2 separate regions of the Homo sapiens genome follow, and region 2 is linked to region 1. The links are contacts of gene promoters, found by promoter capture Hi-C in blood cells and fetal thymus (Javierre and others, 2016). All regions are on one chromosome and are shown on one strand. Each heading gives the region's core, a stretch centred on a gene start or on the middle of the fragment in contact. The rest is flanking DNA. Distances are from core to core; before and after follow the strand shown.

Evidence for each region. The method cuts DNA at HindIII sites, captures the fragments that hold promoters and counts their contacts. A CHiCAGO score of 5 or more calls a contact.
Region 2: a fragment that was not itself captured here is called in contact with the fragment with the promoter of CTTNBP2NL in region 1 in 4 of 17 cell types (naive B cells, M2 macrophages, endothelial precursors and 1 more); the score reaches 7.6 in naive B cells.

What each region holds. Positions count from the first base shown.
Region 1 is chr1:112,394,281-112,399,180 of GRCh38, reverse strand. CTTNBP2NL (CTTNBP2 N-terminal like) reads right to left here and starts at 2,967. Exons shown (of 6, transcript NM_018704.3): 1 at 2,909-2,967. RefSeq lists a silencer at 2,720-2,769. The HindIII fragment of the contact is 10,453 bases long and covers 1-4,900 here.
Region 2 is chr1:112,655,258-112,660,157 of GRCh38, reverse strand. It overlaps CAPZA1 (capping actin protein of muscle Z-line subunit alpha 1), which reads right to left. Exons shown (of 10, transcript NM_006135.3): 6 at 1,057-1,136; 7 at 379-457. Among named protein-coding and RNA genes, the nearest start is that of MOV10, 17 kb to the left of the region's middle. The HindIII fragment of the contact is 405 bases long and covers 1,686-2,090 here.

The DNA.
Region 1 (4,900 bases), core at 1,718-4,217:
CATCCAGCTAATTTTTTACATTTTTGATAAAGACGGGGTTTTATCATGTTGGCCAGGCTGGTCTCGAACTCCTGACCTCGTGATCCACCCGCCTCAGCTTCCCAAAGTGCTGGGTTTACAGATGTGAGCCACCAAGCCTGGCCTCAGAAACTATTCTTGAACAAAAATCAGCAATCAGTCCCTAGTGATCTCTCCTAAATTCACTTCATTCCTATCAGGTCAGATATTTAGAACAATAAAATCCTAAAATGATTAGCACTCATTACGTTCTTAAGTCTGGTTCAAATTTCATGACAGTAAAATAGTATTTTCTAACTAGCAGATTACATATATATTTTTTTAACTTTTTTTTTTTTTTTTTTTGTTAAGAGACAGGGTCTCTTTCTGCTGCCCAGGCTGGAGAGTGCAGTGGCATGATCATAGCTCACTGTAACCTCAAACACCTGGGCTCAAGCAAGCCTCCTGCCTCAGCCTCCCAAGTAGCAAGGATTACAGGGATGAGCCACCACACCCTGCCTCACAGATATTTCTTTATAAGAAATTCAAAATTTTAGTCACTTAAGACACTGGAATTTCATAAGACAGAAGATGGGGAAAATCAAGTTAAATGAAGACAACAAGTAGGCCGTTTATACTAACAAATTGTGCCAAATCTAATCAGTACATTGCCTTTCAGTCTACCCTAAGGTGACAGCCTCAAACTAAGTTAAACAAACACTCATGAAGTCATACTATATACTAGGAACTGTGAAAGATATAAAGATGAAAAACAAAAAATACTACTATCTGCCCTCAAAGAATTTATAATTCAAGGAGAGAGATCAGACATCTATCCTCTGCATACTATGCTTTTCTTCACCTAGCATGACCAAACAGGTGTTGAAAAGGTTAAAGGAAAGATTTTCAAGACCCAAAAGTGTAACAAACAGATCTTGCTTACTGTGCTAAATAATAAAAGAATATTATTTGCTTTTTCCTATTAAACCTCGGCAATCACAACTTTGGTTTGCTTAGTCTCTTACCTTAGTTTATTTTCTGTTCTCTGTTGATATAATACAACTTATCTTTTTGGGATTTTCTGTTCTGCTTTTAGTTTTTTCTGCTGTTATTGCTGGGAGCTCACGTCTTACCCTTCTATTGCAGCACACATTGCGTTTGCTAGAGACACCCTCCAGTTTCTTCTTTGTACTTTCTTACTGGAGATTTGGAAACAATCACTGAGAAGACCTGTGAGCACCGAGTGGCTCTGAAAACTTCAAACCTAACTATTCAAAAGTAATTATCTTTAGGAAGTCTACCTTCAGAAAGTCTAATCAAGAAGGTAAAAGACAACAGTCATTACAATCACCCTCCGTGATTCCAACTCCTTGCATTTTATTGCCATCAGCTTTGGCTATAGCTGACAGAGGGGAGGTAGACTTGAGATTGGAAGCAAAAGAAACTATGCTAAAAACATGGTAAATTTTAATATATAAAAGCGCTAGCAATAGATGATTACTGGGGATTCAACGACATTAACATGAGGTCAAAATCAACACTTTGCACCTGCTGAAATGAAGACCACTTGACAAAACCTTTAGGAGCACACTAGAAGAGGCACTTTTTGGTAAACATGAATAGCTAGAATACCTTGCCTTTATTTACTCTTATCTCTGAGATTTAAAAATTGTTCTTACTTTTCATCCTCTAAATTTTGATAGATGATCGTAAAACCAATCAAAATATACATGAATGTTTCCTGGGGGCGGGGAGGACACTATAAAAAAGGGGTTAGAGAGTTACCAAAGGACATAGGACTAGATTAATCATAAACCTAGATGACTGACCCTGAATTTTCTTCAAACACTTCCTGTCTTTTGTTTCAACCTGCAGTATACCTTCAAGGTTAACTGCAGTCTCCCTGAGCAATGGACCAGCCCACCCTAGACTGGGATATACTCATTCCTAATCCACTGCTACTTATTTACTTATGTATACTGTTTCATTTGAAAACATGGTGTTATTCATTGACTGTCAAGCAACATATACTGCATTCCTGCCCACACAAAGCCAGCTCTGCAGATATCCAACACACCCACCTCACTGTGAAATATAAGATGGCTTTTCATCAAGTTCTCAGGGAGGAAATAGGGTGGAAAAGGAAAAATGAAACGCAATTCAAACCTAAGAAACCCTTAGAGGCTGGGTGCTCCCAGAAGGAACAGAAAGTAGAAGGAAGGTACAAAGGGTGAAGGAGAGGAGGTCCTAGTTCTCCCTCTTTCACAGTCCAAAACAGTCCCAAAACAGGAGAGCTCTCGACTCCTCACAAGAGGCCAGAGGATGCGAGGGGCTGCGGGAGGAAGACTGAGCATCAGAGAATGGGGGATGGGAAGAACTTAAGTGGGAGAAGCCGCTTCCTCCGTAAAGCTGGCTGTCTAGGTCGGTCTTTGATTTTTGCTTCGCCCCATCCCTCCTTTTTGGGAAACACCAATTTTATCTTACGGAGGAAAGCAGCTCCAGTCCCACCCTGGCGAGCAGGGACAGGTGTAGGGAGGGATGTTTGGCCTTCCGGGGGTACGAAATGGGGTTGGGGGCGGCAGCCTAGAGAATCGGTACCTGTGAGTCCTCTCCGCCAAGGCTGAGGTGCGGGGTGGGAGGTGCCTTTGAATGAGGGGTGTCAGAGGGAAGCCCCTTCTGAGGAGCTGGGAATCGACGAGGGACAAAAAGTAGCTGTGAGGACCCTCGGAGGATGAGGAGCCGCCTCCTCGGGGAATACCGGGAGGTGGAGGAGACGGCCCCGCCCCCTCAGGGGATGGGCCCAGAGGCCGTTGAGACGGCGGCGGGAGGCTACCGGTGCCCCTATCCTTGCTTTGCTCTTGAGAACCCGGCCTCCCAGCCATCACCAAGCCCCAGGGATAGTTGCTCCTACCTTTCCACGACGCTCCGGGCTCCGCTCCCCTCCGCCTCCACTCCCCATCCACAGCGGCTGAGGCTCCGCCCCCTCAGCCGCCCGGCGGGGGCATTGGCATTCACCAGCGCCAATCGCCTCCTTGCTTCTCCAGCCTCGGCCCCAATCCGCGCCGGCTGGAGGCGGGGCTTCTCCAAAGTCATTCAGGCTCCTCCCGGGGCCCCAAGATCCCTTTTGTTTGGGAAGAGCAAGGCCGGGATTGAGCTCGCGTCACTTCCGGGAGGAAGCGCCCTCCTGGGTCCTGGGCTTCAGGGTGGGCTCGCGCCCCTCCCGGCTCGGGGTCTGCAACTTTCCACCTCTGCGTGAAAAGTCTGGGCAGGACCGTGACTAGTGCTTCGTGCTTTTACCTGACTGTACGCGGAGTTTAGGAATGGAGGGCTCTGGTGGCCTAATCGATTGGGATTTTATCCAGAATGTTAATAAATGAAGTGGGCTTTGGTGTCTGCATTAGAATGAATTCGTTGTTGAAAAACCTGGCTTCCTTGCTCCCTTTTTTTTTTTCTTTTTTCTGGAAGCGCCTGTGGGCGTGGTGCTGGAAGCAAGGGTGCAAAGATGAAACACCTGGAGATCACCCTTCTCTCAACCACATTTTGTACAGAAGAGGATACTAACTTTGGGGGACATAAACCCAGCCGACCTGCCTTCCAGGCGGAAGTCAAATAATTGCAAATTTGTGTGGCAGGTTTTTCCACCCTATGCTTGCCAGCTGAGGCGACTTTTTTCTTTCCTTGGCCTCATTATATTGTGGGGAATGGTGTTTGCAGTGAAGTTGAAACAATGGAGAGTACAGAGGATGCAAGGAATGTCTGCCTTGTGAACACAGGAATGCAGATCTTGGTGGCAGCAAGTCTTAGGCAGGACCAAATAACTCAGAGAGGGGAGTGGATGTATAACTAGTTGTATCCCTACCTAAGGTCAAAGTTTCTGAATTCCTTTTCCACAGAATGGCTGTCAGCTCACAGATTGATGCAGCTGGTTACATTTACAATAACCACATTATTTAAAATACAATATAATAAATATTTGAGACGAATATTCATAATGCATAAATAATGTAGTACACTTAATACATTATCCCTAAACTTAGCAATTATAATTCGCAAGACAGCATTAGGGACCTAGTGCTTGCCTAGGCAGACAGTCCCCAAGGCAGATGCAGCCTGCCTCATGCAGTTTACAGTCTGACTGAGGGATGTGATCAGTTTGTGCGATTATAGTCTGAAAGAAGTAAACAAGTATTTATCATGTTATCACTGTGCCATGTACTTTCATTTAATGGTATTTGATGTCATTTTCAGTGCTGTATGAGAAATCTATCCTACAGTGTAGGATAGACATCATTGTGTCCAATTTACAGATGAGAAGATAGAGATTCAGAGAAGTCAAATAAAGTCATAGAGCTAGTAAATGGTAAAGAATTTCCAGTAAGGATGTATGACTCCATACTTATGCCATATTCTGCTCACTTCACACTGGCTCTCACATGCTGGACTAAGAATGGGCGTGGATGATGGTAAAGCAAACATTAGAGCCAGAAGGACAGCTCTATGCCTCCCCCTGTTGATTTTAGGCTTGGGAGGGTCATCTCTGTATATGAAGGATAGCAAGACTATGAGTGAAGGTGCTCGATAGCAGTGTAAGTGAATCTGGAGTAATGATGCAGGGTATACTGAACTTCAGAAAGGCATTATGCCTTGTGTTCTGAAAACTGACAATCTGAAAGCTAAAATGAGGGGCCAGGCACAGAGTAGGTACTCAATAAATATTGACTTGAAACAAAATGTCTGAAATGATTACAAATACAGAGTGTTAGGTGCTGGAGCAGGCAAAGGAACTTGAAAAATCCCATTTCCTCCTCCTCCCTTTCGCTCTGCCTATGTGTATGCAATGAGGAAGTGCCTCATCGCCTGACAATGAAGCAGATGTGGGAGAACAAGCTATTTTCTGCTGGCT
Region 2 (4,900 bases), core at 639-3,138, 260 kb before region 1:
GCAGTTAGCTGAGATCACGTCACTGCACTCCAGTCTGGGTGATGGAGTGAAACTCTGTCCCAAAAAATAATAATTATTATTATTATTAATTTTAAATCTTTCCTAAAACTGCTGTTTGATAATTCCTAGTTATATCTTATGTTACCATTGAAGGAAAAATAACAATAACCATGTTGCCATACACTCTACATGCTATCCTTTATCAACTCAGAATAGCTCTCTCTGTTTACCACCCCAAGAAGGAGGCTTCTATTTCTATTCACTGCCATCAGTCTCCCTTTGCATCTACACATACTTGGTCCTTATTTAATACCAAAGCAACCTGCACATGTTTTAAAGATGTGAAGTTTTAAGTCTATAAACATGTTGGAATCTCACCTGAATCTTAAGCACGCCAACCACCTGGGCTGTAGGTGGTGTGATGGTGAACTTCCACTCTGATCTCCAACGACCATTCCTATTAAAACACACACACAACATTGCAGAATTAGCAATAAGCACAAGAAAGAGGTGATTTGCCACTGAGGTACAGAAGTTGGGAAAGAGGGGTGCAAAAAAAGAAAAAAAAAAAGAGAGAGAGAGAAACTGTCATTTCCAGTTTGGCAAACCCAAAGCTCTGTCTACTCAAATGTAAGTCTGGATCTAAGTGGCCTGACCATAAGCCTTTTCTAAGTTATTTTGTCTTTCATTTTTCCTTTTTTCCCTTGAAATGGAAAACCATGCCTATTCTGCTCATGGGAGGCTCTTCCAAAATCAGATGAATAGGCTGCTGAGTTACACAATTAACTCAAGTAGCAGTAACCCTAAGCCAAGTAAAACTCAGATTTTCAACAGGGCACTTTACTAATCACTTGTTCTCACTCAAAATAAGAGTAACTTTTAAAGGAAAATATAATTATAAAACCTTAGAACTGTAAGGAATCTAAATCCCTCATTTATAGATGGAAAACTGAAGTCTGTAAGTTAAATAATTATTCCAAGCTAGTTGGATTAAAAACCAAGTCTCAACTGCTGGTTTCTTTCAGATGTAAATAGAAGAGAATATCTACTTCTTACCAGAAGTTTTTAGGCTGAAACTGGTGGCTTTCAATACATGCAATAATAGTCTGTTGCCCATCGATAGTTTTAGCATAAACCTATTGTTGGGAAAAAAAAATAGTTAAAGACTCCAAACACTTTTAATTTAAACAACATGCATTGTACAAAAGCAGAGTGTTAAATCCTTGGGGGAGACAAAGAATCACATAAAATGAGCTTAGAACACAATAGTGCACATGGGATATGAAAACAAAGCAGAACATGTTAGGTTCTACCAGAGACAGTGATACAATGAAAACAGAGGGAAATACTGCTCTTGGTTTGGGGTACAAGGCGGGTGCCATTTAGGCTGGGTCATACAAGACAGATGAGATTCTGATAAGCAGAGACTGAAAATAAAGGCAAGACAGGAAACTAAGGACTTGTTCAGTGAACAAGACTGTCAGGTTTAAAGGGTGTGTGTGAAGTGGACTAATGAAAGACAAAACAGGATGGTAGATTTAGGTCATGTAATAGTAGATGTAAAGTAAGAAGTTTAAGATTTTATTCTATAGGCAATGGAGAGACAGCAAAACATGACTAGAACTAATATTGTGGGAGAATAATCAATACTGGTATTCAAGATAAAACGAAGAAAAGCTGAAGCTTGGTTAGGAGGCCACAGGATTAATCTAGGCAACAAGTCAGAGTTATATTAATGGGAATGGAAAGGAAGAGTTGCACACAGAATGTAGAAGTACAATCAAAGTCTAGCAGTATATTGCAAATGATGGGCAAAGGAAAGAAGGAACTCAAGAGTGACTAAAAAGATGGTGGTGTCATTAACAAACTGGAAATTACAGATGGAGATGTCTAGTTAGTAGTTAGAAACACTAACTCTTCTTTAGTGTGGGAGAGGTGAATGGAAATGCAATCACCAAGGGAAAGTAAGAAAAAAAAAATAGCGCTTTATAGTCCACAAAATATGTTCTTACATGTATTTTCTTTTTCCTCTAATAAATCTGATGAAATACAGTGTTATCTACAGATAAGAAGTTGAAGTTCACAAAGCTTCTTGCCTAAGGTCACTCAGGAAGTGGTAAAGGTAGAATCCAAACCCACTGTTTTTGTGACACCGAAGTCTGTGTTACTTTACCTGCATTAAATGAATTATGAACTTTGGGGGAATGCCTACATTTACAAAGGTAGGGGAAAAAAAGAACTTAGTATAGAGTAAGAATAATTAGGGGGCTGGGTGCAATGGCTCAAGCCTGTAACCCCAGCACTTTGAGAGGCTGTGGCAGGGGGATTACCTGAGGTCAGGAGTTCAAGACCAGCCCGGCCAACATGGTGAAACCCCATCTCTACTAAAAATACAAAAATTAGCCAGGTGTGGTGGTGGGCACCTGTAATCCCAACTACTAGAGAGGCTGAGGCAGGAAAATCGCTTGAACCTGAGAGGCGGAGGTTGCAGTGAGCTGAGATCATGCCACTGTACGCCAGCCTGGGCAAAAAGAGCAAAACTCCATCTCTAAAAAAAAAAAAGAATTAGGGGTTGCTGACAGCAGCCTAAGTAAAAGATAATTTCTAGAAGTGGTTGATTGGCTTCAGTGTGAAATGCCATTCGGAAGTCATGGACAAGGAAAAGGACACTGGACCAGGTAACTCAGGAACCATTAGTAAACTCAGAGCAGTTTCTGTAGAATGGAGACTAAAGTAAAAAATTAAAGGGTTCAGAAGTAGATAGAGGAAATGGCATTAGCAGGCAAAGAATATGTACTGACGTGGTGGTGATGCAGAGAGAGATGAGAGAAGGGAAAAAGTGGAGAAGAGGGAGAAAGGGCAAGGTGGAAAGGGCAGACAAAGAAGGAGAAATAGGCCGGGCCTGGTGGCTCATGCCTTGTAGTCCCTACACACACACAACACACACAGAGAAAAATTAGATAGGTATGGTGGTGTGCACCTGTGGTCCTAGCTACTTGGGAAGCTGAGGCGAACGGATTACAAGGTCAGGAGTTCAAGACCAGCCTGGCCAACACAGTGAAACCCCGTCTCTACTAAAAATACAAAAATTAGCCAGGTGTGGTGGCAGGCGCCTGTAATTCCAGCTACTCAGGAGGCTGAGGCAGGAGAATCGCTTGAACCCAGGAAGGGGAGGTTGCAGTGAGCCGAGACCACACCATTGCACTCCAGCTTGGAAGACAGAGTGAGACTCTGTCTCAAAAAAAAAAAAAAAAAATTTCTGTCAGTTTCAATCCTTACAAAACATGGGGGATTAGATGCCTGTCAGAGGACAATGAAAAATGTTTGGAACATACTATGTAGAAAATGTGATAGGGAATAAGGAGATGAAATTACGGACTACTAAGCAGGTCAGCTGAAGACATAAGACATAGGATACTTATATACAGCAGACACCATCACAACAATTCCATGACTTTCTGTAGGTCATTTGATAGCTAAGGACACAGTAGGGTTATTTGGTGCTGGAGCTCTCCAAATTAAGAATGGGTAGTGACAAACTTTGAACAGGTAACAAACAATAAATTCAAAGTATATTTAGGATTAAACAGTCAATTTCTAAATGGGAGTCTATCATGTCTCCCCTTTGCAATACTGGCTTCCCAACAGGAATTCTATACTTGTCCAGTCCACCATAATGGGTATTCTCATTAAAAAAAAAAAAAAAAAAAAAAAAAATCAAACATAATGACACCTAGCCTAACATTCATCTAACATTTATGTAGAGCTTACTTTGTGCCAGGCACTGTTCCAGGCATATATTACATATATTACTAATTCATTAAATCTTCACAACAACTCTATGAGATAAAAACAATTATTTCCATTTTACAGTCAAAGAATTGAGGCACAGAGATGTTAAGTAATTTACCTAAGGTCACACAACTAATTAATTGGCAGGGCCAGGAATCAAACCAGTTAGTAAGGCTTCAAAGTAGGTGCTCTTAACTGTATTCTAGACTGCCATGTAATTCATCATCATTGTATATTTAAAATATTCTAGTGAAAATTGCTGATTTTCCCACAACAAAAAAATGATAAATATGTATAGAAATCCATGTTATTAGCTCAATATAGCCATTCCACAATGTATACATATTTCAAAATATCATGTTGTACATATCATATTTTTGTCAATTTAAAAATAAAAAATATTCTAATCAATATTTTTCTTAATATGCCATAATTTTATAAAGGAAAAATAATAAAGCCAAATTTATCTATTTTTACAGTCAAGAGGGAGTAAAAGAAAATTAGGCCAGGTGCAGCAGCTCACGCCTGTAATCCCAGCACTTTGGGAGTCCGAGGCAGCTGGATCACCTGATGTTAGGAGTTCGAGACCAGCCTGGCCAACATGGTGAAGCTCTGTCTCTACTAAAAATATAAAAATTAGCCAGGTGTGGTGGTGGGCACCCGTAATCCCAGCTACTCAGGAAGCTGAGGCAGGAGAATTGCTTGAACCCAGGAGATGGAGGTGACATTGAGCTGACACGGTGCCCCTGCATTCTAGCCTGGGTGACAGAGTAAGACTTAGTCTCAAAAAACAAAAGAACAACAACAACAACAGCAAAAACAACAACAAAAAGAAAATCACTCCTGATTAAAAAAAAATTGTTTGGTTTTTTTTGTTTTTTGTTTTTTTGAGACAGTGTCTCACTCTGTTGCCCAGGCTGGAATGCAGTGGTGTGGTCTCAGCTCACTGCAACCTCCACCTCCCTGGTTCAAGTGATTCTTGTGCCTCAGCCTCCTGAGTAGCTGAAACTACAGGTGTGCACCACCACATCCAGCTACTTTTTGTATTTTTTAAGTAAAGGTTTCACCATGTTGGCCAGGCTGGTCTCGAACTCCTGGCCTCAAGTGA